Regions from separate parts of the Homo sapiens genome. Here region 2 is linked to region 1. The links are contacts of gene promoters, found by promoter capture Hi-C in human tissues and cell types (Jung and others, 2019). All regions are on one chromosome and are shown on one strand. The core of a region is centred on a gene start or on the middle of the fragment in contact, and the rest is flanking DNA. Distances in the headings are between cores, read along the strand shown.

Region 1 (7,220 bases), core at 4,448-6,947:
GGATGAGCTTCTAAGAGCATGGCCTGCTTGACACTGTTACAGGAAAGGGGTCCCGATCCGGACCCCAAGAGAGGGTTCTTGGATCTCTCACAAGAAAGAATTCAGCGCAAGTCCGCAGAGAAAAGTGAAAGCAAGTTTATTAAGAAAGTAGAGGAATAAGAGAATGACTATTCCATAGAGCAGCCCTGAGGACTGCTGGTTGCCCATTTTTATGGTTTTTTTTTGATGACATGCTAAACAAGGGGTGGATTATTCATGCCTCCCCTTTTTAGACCATATAGGGTAACTTCCTGATGTTGCCATGGTATCTGTAAACTGTCATGGTGCTGGTGGGAGTGTAGCAGTGAGGATGACCAGAGGCCACTCTTGTGGCCATCTTGGTTTTGGTGGGTTTTAGCCGGCTCCTTTACTGCAACCTGTTTTATCAGCAAGGTCTTTATGGCCTGTAGTTTGTACTGACCTCCTATCTCATCCTGTGACTAAGAAGGCCTTAACCATCTGGGAATGCAGCCCAGTAGGTCTCAGCCTCATTTTACCCAGCTCCTATTCAAGATGGAGTCGCTCTGGTTCAAACACCTCTGAACATGTTCATGCATTGTTTGACCCACAGTAGATAAGCCTGAGGCTAAGCCCTTGACTCATAATTCTCGAGAGCATATCACCAATCAGGAAAATGAATAGTGGCAGCCAGGTATGATGGCTCATGCCTGTAATCCCAGCACTTTGGGGGACCAAAGTGGGAGGGTCGCTTGAGCCCAGGAGTTCAAGATCAGACTGTGCAAGGTAATGAGACCCCATCTGTGATGGTTCATACTGAGTGTCAACTTGATTGGGCTGAAGGATGCAAAGTACTGATCCTGGGTGTGTCTGTGAGGGTGTTGCCAAAGGAGATTCATATTTGAGTCAGTGGCTGGGAAAGGCGGACCCACCCTTAATCTGGGTGGGCACCATCTAATCAGCTGCCAGCAAGGCTAGAATATAAAGCAGGCAGAAAAATGTAAAAAGACGAGACTGGCCTAGCCTCCCAGCCTACATCTTTCTCCCGTGCTGGATGCTTCCTGCCCTCGGACATCGGACTCCAAGTTCTTCAGTTTTGGGACTCAGACTGGCTCTCCTTGCTCCTCAGCTTGCAAACAGCCTACTGTGGGACCTTGTGATCGTGAGAGTTAATAATTAATAAACTCCCCTTTGTGTGTGTGTGTGTGTGTATATATATATATATATATATATATAAAATAGGATATATATATATATATAAAATAGGATATATATATATATATAAAATAGGATATATATATATATATCCTATTAGTTCTGTCCTTCTAGAAAACCCTGACTAACACACCATCTCTACAAAAAATAAAAAATTAGCTAGCTGAGGTGATGCACACCTGTGGTCCCAGCTATTCAGAAGGCTGGGGTGGGAGGATCACTTGAGCCCTGGAGGTCGAGGCTGCAGTGAGCTGTGATTGCAACACTGCATTCCAGCCTGGGAGATAGAGTGAAACTCTGTCTCTTAAAAAAATAAATAAAATAAAATAAAATAAAAGTAGTGGGACATTTCAGGCCGTTTAAAAATTTGAAATTTTGGTCTTTAATATTCATTAAAAACCAGGTCATATTTTCTTGTCTCCACCTCTAGCCCGGGGGAAAAGAGAAAATACAGTGAAAAAGAGGTTTAAACTTAGTTTTCCTTAAGGCTGAGCCCTAGTGTGACTTTCAGTCAGAAATGGGTTATACTGTGGCCAGGCGTGGTGGCTCACGCCTGTAATCCCAGCACTGTGGGAGGCTGAGGTGGGCTGATCACTTGAGGTCAGGAGTTCGAGACCAGCCCGGGCAACATGGCGAAACCCTGTCTCTACTAAATATGCAAAAATTAGCCAGGTGTGGTGGTGGGCGCCTGTAGTTGCAGCTACTCAAGAGGCTGACACAGGAGACACTTGAACCTGGGAGGCGGAGGTTGCAGTGAGCTGAGATCACGCTACTGCACTCCAGCCTGGGTGACAGAGCAAGACTCTGTCAAAAAAAAAAGGGGGAGGAGGTTACCCTGGAGAGCGTTTTTGTTTCTGCCTTCAACAGGTCATGCCAGCAGAAGAGATTTTTTTTTTTTTGAGACGGAGTCTCACTCTGTCGCCCAGGTTGGAGTGCAGTGGTGCTATCTCGGCTCACTGCAAGCTCTGCCTCCCAGGTTCATGCCATTCTCCTGCCTCAGCCTCCCAAGTAGCTGGGACTACAGGCGCCCGCCACCACACCCAGCTAATTTTTTGTGTTTTTAGTAGAGACGGGTTTCACCTATGAGGTCTGGATCTCCTGACCTCGTGATCCACCCACCTCAGCCTCCCAAAGTGCTGGGATTACAGGCATGAGCCAGCACGCCCAGCCCGAGAAGAGATTTTTTAAAAGCCACTTTATTCGATTTCCAAATCTTAGTCTTCCATATCTTTAGAGACCACCTGCCATGTCCTTTCCGTCTGAAGCCTGGCATCTCGAGCCTGGTGTGAAGGTGTGCTCCCCAGTGCACAACTTCACCCTCCTAGTACAGCTTAGTCCCTCCCACCCTGTTCTCAGCAGCTGGGTGTGACATACCCGCTATGTGCCTGATATACCCACTATGTGCGAGACATACCCACTGTGCACCTGACATACCCACTGTGAGCCTGACATGCCCATTGCATGCACGATACCACCCACTGTGTGCATGCGACATACCCACTGTGTGCAACATACCAACTGTTTGCATGACATACCCACTGTACACCTGACATGCCCATTGTGCGCCTGACATGCCCACTATGTGCGTGCAACATACCCACTGTGTGCGTGCGACATACCCATTGTGCGCACGACATACCCACTGTGCGCGCGACATGCCCACTGTGCACCTGACATGCCCGCTGTGTGCGTGCGACATGCCCACTGTTTGCATGCGACATACCCACTGTGCACCTGACATACCCACTGTGCGCGCGACATACCCACTGTGTGAGTGCGACATACCCACTGTGCGCGTGAAATACCCATTGTGTGTGTGCGACATACCCACTGTGCGTGCGACACACCCACTGTGCGCATGACACACCCTGTGTGCGCGACATACCCACTGTGCGCCTGACATGCTCATTGTGCGCCTGACATGCCCACTGTGTGTGTGCGACATGCCCACTGTGCGCGTGACATGCCCACTGTGCGTCTGACATGCCCACTGTGTGCGTGCCACATACCCACTGTGCACCTGACATACCCACTGTGCGCGACATACCCACTGTGCATCTGACACGCCCATTGTGCGCGACACACCCACTGTGTGCGTGCAACATACCCACTGTGTGCCTGACACTGTGTGCATGCGACATACCCACTGTGTGCGAGACATACCCACTGTGCGCCTGACATGCCCATTGTGCACCTGACATGCCCATTGCGTGCGTGCAACATACCCACTGTGTGCGTGCGACATACCCACTGTGCGCCTGACATGCCCACTGTGTGCGTGCAACATGCCCACTGTGCGTGACATACCCAGTGTGTGCGTGCGACATACCCACTGTGTGAGTGCAGGGCCTCTTCTCATTCGTGCTTGTCCCCCGGAAAGTCATGTCCGCTGGAACCTCGGAATGTGGCCTTAATTTGGTAAACGGGTCTTTCCAGACATGGTTAGTTAACATGAGGTCATGCTAAATTAAGGCAGGCCTAAGTCCACACTGACTGACGTCCTCATAAGAAGAGGAGAGGCTGGCTGGGTGCAGTGCCTCCCGCCTGTAATCCCAGCACTTTGGGGAGACCGAGGCAGCCCGATCACCTGAGGTCAGGAGTTCGAGATCAGCCTGGCCAACATGGTGAAACCCCATCTCTACTAAAAACACAAAAATTAGCCAGAAATTGCTTGAATCCTGGAGGTGGAGGTTGCAGTGAGCCAAGATCGTGCCACTGCACTCCAGCCCGGGCGACAGAGTGAAACTGTCTCAACAACAACAACAACAACAAGAACTAATTCAGATTCTAAAACCAGTTGCTAAATGTTTCCTTTTTTTTTTCTTTTTAGACAGAGTTTCAAAATCTGTCGCCCAGGCTGGAGTGCAGTGGCCGGATCTTGGCTCACTGCAACCTCCGCCTCCTGTGTTCAAGCAATTCTCTTGCCTCAGCCTCCCGAGTAGCTGGGATTACAGGTGCTCGCCACCACACCCAGCTAATTTTTGTATTTTTAGTAGAGATGGGGTTTCACCATGTTGGCCAGGATGGTCTCGAACTCCTGACCTCGGGTGATCCACCTGCTTTGGCCTCCCCAAGTGATGGTTGGGATTACAGGCATGAGCCACCACTGCCAGCCTTTTCAACTTTTTATGAAAAATTTCATACATAGAAAATGTCAGAAGATAGGTCAATGAAGACCTGTATTCCTGCCTGTAGACGCCACACTTGTATTTTTTTGAGACGGAGTCTCACTCTGTCACCCAGGCTGGGGTGCAGTGGCGCGATCTCGGCTCACTGCAAGCTCCGCCTCCGGGGTTCACGCCATTCTCCTGCCTCAGCCTCCTGAGTAGCTGGGACTACAGGCGCCCGCCACCACGCTCAGCTAATTTTTTGTGTTTTTAGTAGAGACGGGGTTTCACCGTGTTAGCCAGGATGGTCTCGATCTCCTGACCTCATGATCCGCCCGCCTCGGCCTCCCAAAGTGCTGGGATTACAGGCGTGAGCCACCGCGCCCGGCCAACGCCACAACTGTTAACAGTGTGCCATAGTTGCTTATCTGCATACACATATGTGCGTGTAATGATTTACTTTTTTGCAGAATGAATTACAGACATCATGACAGGTCACCTTTACCAAAGAGTTCTGCAGTTATTTCTAAAAATAAAGAATATTTTTCTACTTCAGGGTATGTCAAACTGTGGCCCTAGGCCAAATGCAGCCTCCCCGTTTTTTTTTTTGTTGTTGTTTTTTGAGACAGAGTCTCACTCTGTCGCCCAGGCTGGAGTGCAGCGGCGCAATCTCGACTCACTGCAACCTCCGCCTCCCGGATTCAAGCAATTCTCCTGCCTCAGCCTCCTGAGTAGCTGGGATTACAAGCGCCCGCCACTACGCCTGGCTAATTTTTGTATTTTTAGTAGAGACAGGGTTTCACCATGTTGGTCAGGCTGGTCTCAAACTCCTGACCTCGTGATCCACCCGCCTCAGCCTCCCAAAGTGCTGGAATTACAGGCGTGAGCCACCGCGCCCGGCACACCCCTGGTTTTAAAAATAAAGTTTCGAGCCGAGAGTGGTGGCGCCCGTGGTCCCAGCTCCTCGGGAGGCTGAGGCTGGGGGATCCCTGGAGCCCGCGAGGCAAAGGCTGCAGTGAGCCGAGATCGCGCCTTGCACTCCAGCGTGGGTAACAGAGCGAGACCCTGTCTCAGGAAAAAAATACAAGTGGGGTTATAAATAAAATGAGATTAAAAAACAACAGATCTTTGCCTCAGAATCCCGACCCACCGCAGCCCCAGCGAGGCGCAGGCGCAGGCGCAGGCGCGCGCTCGCTGGTTCCGCCCATGCGCACAGGCAGGGAGCGCGCGCCCCCTCTGTAGCCTTCGGCCTCCGGGGGCTGCAGTTGCGCGGCTCGGCCACTGCGCGGCGGTGGCGTGCGCCTGGGCGGTGTCGCGGGCTGTGACGTCACGCCACGCGCCGGGGCCAGGAGGAGGCGGGCGCAGGAGGCGCGTGCTCAGTGTGCTGGGTACCAGGCGACTCCGGGACAGGGGGTCTCGGCCGTCGGCGTCATGGTTTCGCGCGTGCAGCTCCCGCCTGAGATCCAGCTGGCTCAGCGCCTGGCGGGGAATGAGCAGGTGACCCGGGACCGGGCGGTGAGGAAGCTCCGGAAATACATCGTCGCCAGGACTCAGCGGGCCGCAGGTTGGCGGGGGTGTGGGCGGCTGGCGTCTCGGGGGCCGGCTGGGCTGGTGCGGGTGTGGGCGGCGGCGGCCGGAGCTGGGGGCCCTCCGAGCCCTGTGGAACCTCCACGTGGCCGGGCCGGGCAGGCGGGGTCCACTGGCCTGTTCCCGCTGTTACCGGCCCACGGCCCCCGCCGCCGCTTTCCCTCGTGGTGCGGTGACTCTGGTCCCTCTGCGAGAACGCTCCTCCCCAGCCCCGTAACCCCTTTCCTAGCTCAGGCGTCCCCTCCCTCCAGTAGACCATGTACTCCTGCTGCCCTGCTGTTTGGGCACCCAGTATTTTTCCCTCATGGCAGCATTTCCCACTGTTTGCAGTTTTCTGTTTTGCGTTAATTATTGGATTGTTTTCCGATTTCCACTCGAGAGTACCTCTCTGAGGGCCGAGAATCTACTTCTTGTTCATGGTACCAGGTGGTTCTCCGAGCGTGGTCCCCCATCAGCAGTAGCATCCCCTGGACATTTGTTAGAAATACACGTTCTATGCCGGGCGCAGTGGCCCAAGCCTGTAATCCCAGCTACTTGGCACGTCGATGTGGGAGGATCACAAAGGCCCAGGAGTCCAGCCTGGGCAACATAGCAAGACTCCATTTCCATCGCAAAAGAAAAGAAAGAAATGCAAGTTCTAGGATCCCAGCCCTACTAAATCAGGACTGGCATCTGCTTTATGAAGCTGTTCAAGTGCTTCTGCTCCCCACACTCAGCCTGAGAACCACTGCTGCAGGAACAGGTTGCCAGACACATAGGACTTCAGTGAATGTCAACTGAGTAATGTTTTAAATTAAAATTTTTTGTTATTTTTCTGAGTGAGACAGACCTCACTGTCATCCGTGGTGGAGGAGTGCATTGGCACGATTACAGCTCACTGCAGCCTCTACCTCCCAGGCTCAAGTGAGCCTCCCATCTCAGCCTCCCCAATAGCTGGGACTACTGGCACCGTGCGGCCAGGCCAGCTAAGTTTTGTATTTTTTGTACAAATTGGGGTCTTCCTATGTTGCCCAGACTGGTCTTGAACTCCTGGCCTCAAGTGATCCTGCCTCAGCACTCAATTCCAAAGTGCTGGGAGTACAGGCGTGAGCCACCGCACCTGGCCTCAGTAATTTCTGTTTCTCTCGTAGTCTGAATGCCTGAGTTCACTTTCTTCTTTTAGTATTTGAGATATATTACAGGAGAGTGCAGAAGCCCTCAGTATAATGCTGGATGAATTATCACCAACAGATTAACCTTGTGGCCACTGTCCAGCTTAGGAAACCGTCAAGGTTCGCAATTTTGAATTTCCAAAATGGAGTATGGTGCCTGATA
Region 2 (7,386 bases), core at 4,207-6,706, 36 kb before region 1:
GTCAGGAGTTCGAGACCAGCCTGGCCAACATGGCGAAACCCCGTCTCTACTAAAAAAAATTAGCCGGGCGTGGGGGCAGGCGCCTGTAATCCTAGCTGCTCGGGAGGCTGGGGCAGGAGAATCGCTTGAACCCAGGAGGTGGAGGTCGCAGTGAGCCAAGACCACGCCATTGCACTCCAACCTGGGCAACAGGAGCGAAACTGTCTCAAAAAACAAAACAAAACAAAAAAGTGTTGAATTGTTTGTCAGGCAACTTAGACAAAAACTAGATGAAGGGTGCATTGACTCAGCCAGGAAGAGCTGGCGGGTTGGGCTCCCAGTCGCAGATGGACATGGCCAGCACCCCCAAGCCCTCACCAGATGACCAGGGCTGCTCCATCCACCTGTGGGGTTTCCCTTTCCTCGTCTCCCTCCTCCCTCCCTCCCTCTCTCCTTCACCTCCTTCTCCTCCCAGACACTCTGTGGGGACCCACTGTGCGCCCTGAGTCCTCCCTCGGCCCCTCGGAGCACTTAGGGTTCCCCACTCTAGTGTGCCTCGGCCACACGCTGTCCCCGTGGTGGGAACAACTTATCGCTACAGTCGGGGGGCCTGGCCCCTGAGCCTGGACTTCAGGGGGCTTTTGGGGGAGCACTCCGTGGTGGGCTTCCCTCCGCGCCCCCTGGCGTGCTTCCCTCACGGTGACTCAGCCTCTCCTCCTGTCTCCTTTGTTGGCCAGTACGTCCCGGAGGACCTCCTTCCCGTCTACAAAGAAAAAGTGGTGCCGCTTGCAGACATTATCACGCCCAACCAGTTTGAGGCCGAGTAAGTCATTTTATTTTATTTTACTTTATTTATTTATTTTTCAAGATGGGTCTCGCTCTTGTCACCCAGGCTGGAGTGCAGTGGCACGATCACAGCTCACTGCAACCTCTGTCTCCGGGGTTCAAGCAATTCTCCTGCCTCAGCCTCCCGAGTAGCTGGGATGACAGGCGTGAGCCACCACGCCCGGCTAATTTTTGTATTTTTAGTAGTGACGGGGTTTCACCATGTTGGCCAGGCTGGTCTTGAACTCCTGACCTCAGGTGATCCACCCATCTCAGTCTTCCAAAGTGCTGGGATTACAGGCATGAGTCATCGTGCCCAGCAGAGTAAGTTATTTTAAATGGCAAATGCTACCAGTCTTTCCCCAGGGAGAGCTGCAGAGAACATGCCAGAAGGGTCTCCACTCTGCCTTCGGGCTGCCTGTTTAGCTTACGAAGTGGTTCTCAGGAAGGTCCTGCCATGGGGCGAGTGCCCCTTGATACTGGAGCAGGATGTGGTGGGGGCGCCTGGGTTGGAGAAGCCCCTGCCCACCTGGGTCCCAGGCTCACGTCTTCTCTTTGGTGGTGGCAGCCATGGGTGATGGGGATGGTTTTGCTGCCCCTGTGCCTTCCTGAGCGGCAGGGCCCCTGGGAGAGGAAGAGGAGGGGCGACCTGGGGAGCTGTGGGCTTGTCGGGGCCACCACAGCAGAGGGAGGGTGGGGGCAGCACAGGCGGCCAGGTCACCTGCCGCCCTGTGAGGGGAAGAGGAGTGTGTTGGGCTTGGCTGTCTGATACCGAGTTTGAAAAGGTCTTTCTTTGGGTGCATGGCTCCCCCCAGCTGAAGAATCACACACCAGGGGAAGCCACCAGCGCCCCAGTGCCATGAAGAGTGGAGCTGCCCGCGGAGGGGGCTGGTGCCTGTCACAGCTTAGCTCTACCTGGCCCTGAGCCAGGTCTTGAGCCCCCCCATTCACGCAGGGGTGGGGGCGCCTGGACTCTTGGAGGCCTGGGATCCCTGACCTGGGCCTGTCCAAACTTGGGGGTGGCATCTCACTCGAGGCCCCTGAGCCATGGGTGGCCCATGCGTGCATTAATCGCTAGCGGCTCTTTGACTTTGTATGGATGTCAGTCACCCATGCTGAGACCCTGCGCTGTGGCATGGGCCTTAAGTGGGGGCCGTGGCTGCTGTCCATCACCACGGTTACGTATAAACAGCAGCCATGATTGGGCCTTACGTGACTCCTGTAATGTGAGGGTCCCCTTTAGAACCAAACCCCACATGTTGCAGGGGCCCCGGCCCAGGGTGGCCAGTGGACGAAGAGTTAGCTGCCTGTGGGGATGGGGATTTCCAGAGCCGCTGCGGTTTGGGGAATGTCAACACACAACCCGGAGAGGAGAGGCTCACCTGTCCCCACCCGCCTGTCCCCGCCTGTCTTCCAGGTTACTGAGTGGCCGGAAGATCCACAGCCAGGAGGAAGCCTTGCGGGTAAGGAGGCCCTCTGGGGCCTGTGCGGGGCACATGTGCCGCTCACGGTGGGGACGGGAGACAGGCTGCCTGAGTGGCACCACTGTGTCATTTCTCCCCAGCAGTGACTGAACAGTCTGTACCAGTCGGGGCCTCCAGAGATCAGCAGGATATATGTGTGTGTGTACATGTGTGGACATGTTTGTGCATGTGTGTGTGTGTGTGCATGTGTGCGTGTGTGCGCGCGTATTGTGTGTGGGTGTGTGTGTGGATGTGTGCGTGTGTGCGCGCACCCATGTGTGCATGTGTGCACGTGTGTGTGTGCACATGTGCATGTGCGTCTGTGTGCATGTGTGTCCATGGGCGTGTGGGCATGGGTGTGCACGCATGTGTGCATGTGTGTGCGTATGTGTGCACGTGTTTGCACATGTGTGTGCATGTGTGTGTGTGTGTGTGCACATGTGTGTGAAGAGCTATTGTAAGGCGGTGGCTTGAGCTGTGTGGGGGCTCCTGGGCATGTTTGGGATTTGCAGGGCCAGCTGTTGGGAAGGGCAGGCTGGAGGCTGGACACAGGAGCAGATGCAGCAGCCCAAGGTGCAGTTTCTTCAAAGTCCTTTTTCTCCGGGACTTGGAGACCGTGCGTGTCTTGCTAGCATTGAACCTTGGTTGAGTCATCTTAGTCTGTTGGGGCTGCTGTGACAAAATGCCTGAGACTGGATGATTTATAAAAAACAGAACTTTTGGCCGGATGCAGTGGCTCACGCCTGTAATCCCAGCACTTTGGGAGACTGAGGTGGTCAGATCACTTGAGGTCAGGAGTTCGAGACCAGCCTGGCCAACATGGTAAAACCCCATCTCTACTAAAAATACAAAAATTAGCTGGGCATGGTGGTGCACGCCTATAATCCCGGCTAGTTGGGAGGCTGAGGCAGGAGAATCGCTTGAAGCCAGGAGGCGGAGGTTGCAGTGAGCTGAGATTGCACCACTGCACTCCAGCCTGGGCAACAGAGTGAGCGAGACTCCATCTCAAAAAACAAAACAAAACAAAACAAAACAGAACTTTGTTCCCCACAGTTCTGGAGGCTGGGAAGTCCAAGGTCAAGGCACTGGCAGGCTCAGGGTCTGGCGGGGGCTACTTTGCTACCCGGACTGCACCTTGTTGCTGCATCCTCATGTGTGGATGGCAGGGGGCTCGAGGGGCCCATGCTGCTCCCTCCAGCCCTCATCAGGCACAGAGAAAGGGGAGCCCTCATGACTTAATCATGCCCCAGAGGACCCCTTCTGAATATTGCCACATGGGTGCCATGTTTCAACATGCATTTTAGAGCAGACACTGTCAGACTGCAGCAGGAGTCCATGTGCTTTGGGCTGCGTTCCCAAGCAGCCTGGCGCTGCCCTGAATTTTGTCTTCACAACCCAGGAGCCTGGTCCTGAGAATGGGCCACTGCAGCAGCCACTCCTCCCACTCGGAGGCCTTTCGCTGACCTGGTATTGGGTCCTGGGACTGCAGAGTCAGCTGACCCTGGAGCAGGGTCCAGATTCTGCTATGGACACGTGCTGGGTGGCGATGCAGCACATGTGTGTGTGTGTGTGTGTGTGTGTGCGCGCGCGTGCTGCCCGATCTGAGGCAACCGTGCGGTGGAGACAGTTTCTACGAGAGTTACAGAAAAGCCAACGTACAGAGGGGCCAGCTCCTCCTCGCTGCAGGACAGGCACCCATCTGTCCACCCCCCAAGGGGGAGGCCCTCGCCAGTCACCTGTGGGGAGCCACACGGTTTGGGCTGACAGTTTGTGGGGGGATGGTGGCTGACCAGGTGGCTGTCTTCCCTCCGGGAGTGCCGCCATTGGGAACGGGCTCTGGGGGAGTGGGGTGTGACCGGCCGTGGCTGATGCTCCCCGTGCCACTGCCAGGTGATGGATCGGGGAGTGGGGTGTGACCAGCCGTGGCTGACATGTGACCGGCCGTGGCTGACGCTCCCTGTGCCACTGCTAGGTGATGGACATGCTGCACTCTATGGGCCCCGACACCGTGGTCATCACCAGCTCCGACCTGCCCTCCCCGCAGGGCAGCAACTACCTGATTGTGCTGGGGAGTCAGAGGAGGAGTAAGTGCCCCCATCGTGCACCGTGGCCGCCTCTGCTCTTCCCAGAGGAAGGTGTTCTTTGGGGCTGCAAGAATGTTTTGGGTTCAATAGCATGAAATTTAAGCCTTATCCAGCACCGGGATGACACCCCCATTTTACAGACTCTCAGGGATCAGGTGGGATTCCCAAGACCTCACAGGTCACGATGAATGGCCTGGCTGGAACTGGCTTCCACGGACCCAGCATCATAGGCCTCCCTCAGAGCCAGGCGGGGTCCCTGAGTTCACTGGGAGGACGCGTCCACCCGGCTGTGCTGATTGTTTACACAGACACCACCTGGTTGATTTTCTCTGAACAGTGTGAAAATGACGCAGAAGGCTGGGGCCATGCACTAAGCTAGTGGCCGCGGGTTCATACCCATGGGCCCAAAAGAACAGCTGTGACCTCCTTGCCGCTCTATGTTTGGACATGGGAGCCTTGCAGGCACACACATAGGCACAAATGCACATACACTTGGGCACAAATGCACATACGGGCACACACGTGGACATGGGCACACATAGGCATACATGCACACATACACACGGGCACACACAGGCATACATGCACACGGACACATGCATACACACGGACACACATGCATACACGTGGGCACACGCACACACATGCACACACACTCGGATGCGTCCAGGTACATCCTAGTTCTTCACGCCGTCGTTACTCTCGGGAGTTTCACAGCGACCCCCGAGGCGGCCTGACCGTGTGGCCCTCTGAGGGTGCAGTCTTTCCCTTTCCCTTGCTGCGGTGATGGGGACCCCATGCATGCCCTGAGCCCCCACGTCCTGAGCAAGGCCACCTTGTGCTCTGCCCCTGTGACCCTCCCTGCCGCCGTGCCCAGGAGGATCAGGGATGGGAGGCTGGCCCTGGCAGAGGAGCGGCAGATCTCAGTGACCTTGCCCATCTTCTCCCCCTAGGGAATCCCGCTGGCTCCGTGGTGATGGAACGCATCCGGATGGACATTCGCAAAGTGGACGCCGTCTTTGTGGGCACTGGGGACCTGTTTGCTGCCATGCTCCTGGCGTGGACACACAAGCACCCCAATAACCTCAAGGTCAGCCACACGCACCGCTCCCCTCCTCGCCCACTCCCACGGCACCTCATGGGGAGCAGGATATGAGAGTCCTGGTGGGGGGTCCCTGCTGAGCTGACAGGGCATGGCCCTGAGTGCTGGCCCCAGTTGTGGGGGAGGGCAGTGGCCAGGCCATGACAGGAGTTGCGCCTGTCACTCTCACATCGCCTCCCATCTCCCCTTATTTGGGACCTAGGGATGATCAGAGTCTGTGAGGGCTTGGGTGACAGATGTTTCAGAACAGACCCATGGGGGTCCCACCAGGATTCAGATGCCACCCGCTTGGCGTTGGCGCAGGGCTGTGGGATGCATGGAGCTGTTGTGTCCTTGGTGACTTGGGGGCTGCTGCAGAGGAGTGGCACCCTGCAGCATTTCCCACAGTGTGACCACGGCAGTGACCTGAGGGACGGAAAGGCCGGAGCCGCCCTTCGGGGACAGTAGGTGGGAGGCTGAGGACAGGGGTCCAGGCAGGTGTGGAGAGCCGTCTTTCTGGGCGTTTTGTCTGGATGTCTGCCTGCTTTTCAAGTTTGTAGAGATCGGGTGGCTTTGCTTAGACAGTGGGGGGAGTGGGACTGTTGGGCAACTGACATGGCAGGTTGGGATGTGGGGTCTCGTGAGCCTTTCTCGTGTGTCCCATGGGTAAGCACACAGCTCAGCGGGGACAGAGGAGTTTTGTTGCAACTGTGGCGCTCAGATCCGTGACCTCCCGTGCTGCATGCAGCAGAGTTGCTTGTGGCCTCGGCAGGTGGTTTTGTCAGCTGAGTCCGAGGACGCCTGGAGTGTGTCTTCTTACAACACCGTCCAGAGCCGTGCTGTGCTCTGAGGTGGTCCCCAGCCCCTGGGCTCAGCCCCCAAAACTCCCCTGGGTACTTCCCACTGCGTCCGCAGTGGGTTCAGGTGGGAGGGAGGGGCCTGCCATCCCTTTGGAATGTGGGGCAGGGCAGGGGTGCCATGGGAGTGACAGGAGGAAGACAGGACACCTCTGTCACTATTGGGTGCGCTGGGGAAGGAAGAGTTCAGAGGTCAGGACCTGCAGGTGGCTCTCCCTGTGCTGTCTTTGCCGGGCCGCTTAAGGGGCCACGTGTCCCCCGGGGTACACCTCCTCCCCAACAAGTCAGTTTCAGCTGAGTGTCCTGGTGTGTAAAATGGAAGAGGTGGACTGAGGCCCTTTGCCTCCCATGGGACTAGCCCTCTGCACACCCTGAGCTGGAATGCACAGCCCCCTCATTCCATCCCTTCTGGCCCCTCAAGGGCAATTAAACAGGGCCATTAAGTAAGCCTGCCGTGTTTAATTGGTGGTGCAGGGCAGTGGAAAAGTGCCAGCTGGCACCCCGAGGAGGCCTCACTGCCAGGCCGCCCAAGGTCACATTCTGGGTTTGGCCAGCCCAGGGTTGTGGAGTCGGGGAGCGAGTTCCCCGTGCTTCCCCAGCACCTTTGACTCTGAGGCATCACTGAGTGATGATTGGCTGACTCTGAGGCATCACTGAGTGATGATTGGCTGACTCTGAGGCATCACTGAGTGATGATTGGCTGACTCTGAGGCATCACTGAGTGATGATTGGCTGACTCTGAGGCATCACTGAGTGATGATTGGCTGGGCTTTCGGCAGGAGCACTTCCCCTTGTAGACTCGTTATAAGGAGTTAATTCTGGGAACTCCTACCAAGCTCCTGCTGCCTGCCAAGTTCTATGCAGGTCACGAGGCTGTCCCTTCTGTGAGCCATCTCTTGTCCAGAGCAGGTAGCTGGGACCGGGCATCTGCTCAGCCCTCCGGGCTCTCCGTGGTGGGCAGTCCGCAGCCTGTCCTCCAGGGTTCAGCACGTGCATTGGCGGAGCCGGCTCCCCGGTGGCTCGGAGAGCAGGACGGCCCTTGTGTTCCCTGGAAATCCCCTCCTGGCAGCAGTGGGCACGTCGGGTGTTGTGAGTGG

What was found. Contacts are between HindIII fragments. The study calls those that stand out against the background at their distance.
Region 2: a contact is called between a fragment that was not itself captured here and the fragment with the promoter of RRP1 in region 1, in 1 of the 25 tissues and cell types used here (mesenchymal stem cells).

Annotation. Positions count from the first base shown.
Region 1 is chr21:43,783,880-43,791,099 of GRCh38, forward strand. It overlaps RRP1 (ribosomal RNA processing 1), which reads left to right and starts at 5,698. Exons shown (of 13, transcript NM_003683.6): 1 at 5,698-5,883. The coding sequence starts at 5,751. RefSeq lists enhancers at 2,521-3,062, 3,063-3,603, 5,759-5,868 and silencers at 5,499-5,728, 5,939-6,108. The HindIII fragment of the contact is 35,062 bases long and covers 1-7,220 here.
Region 2 is chr21:43,748,279-43,755,664 of GRCh38, forward strand. It overlaps PDXK (pyridoxal kinase), which reads left to right. Exons shown (of 11, transcript NM_003681.5): 6 at 717-802; 7 at 2,222-2,267; 8 at 4,240-4,351; 9 at 5,305-5,441. Among named protein-coding and RNA genes, the nearest start is that of CSTB, 24 kb to the right of the region's middle. The HindIII fragment of the contact is 8,662 bases long and covers 1,126-7,386 here.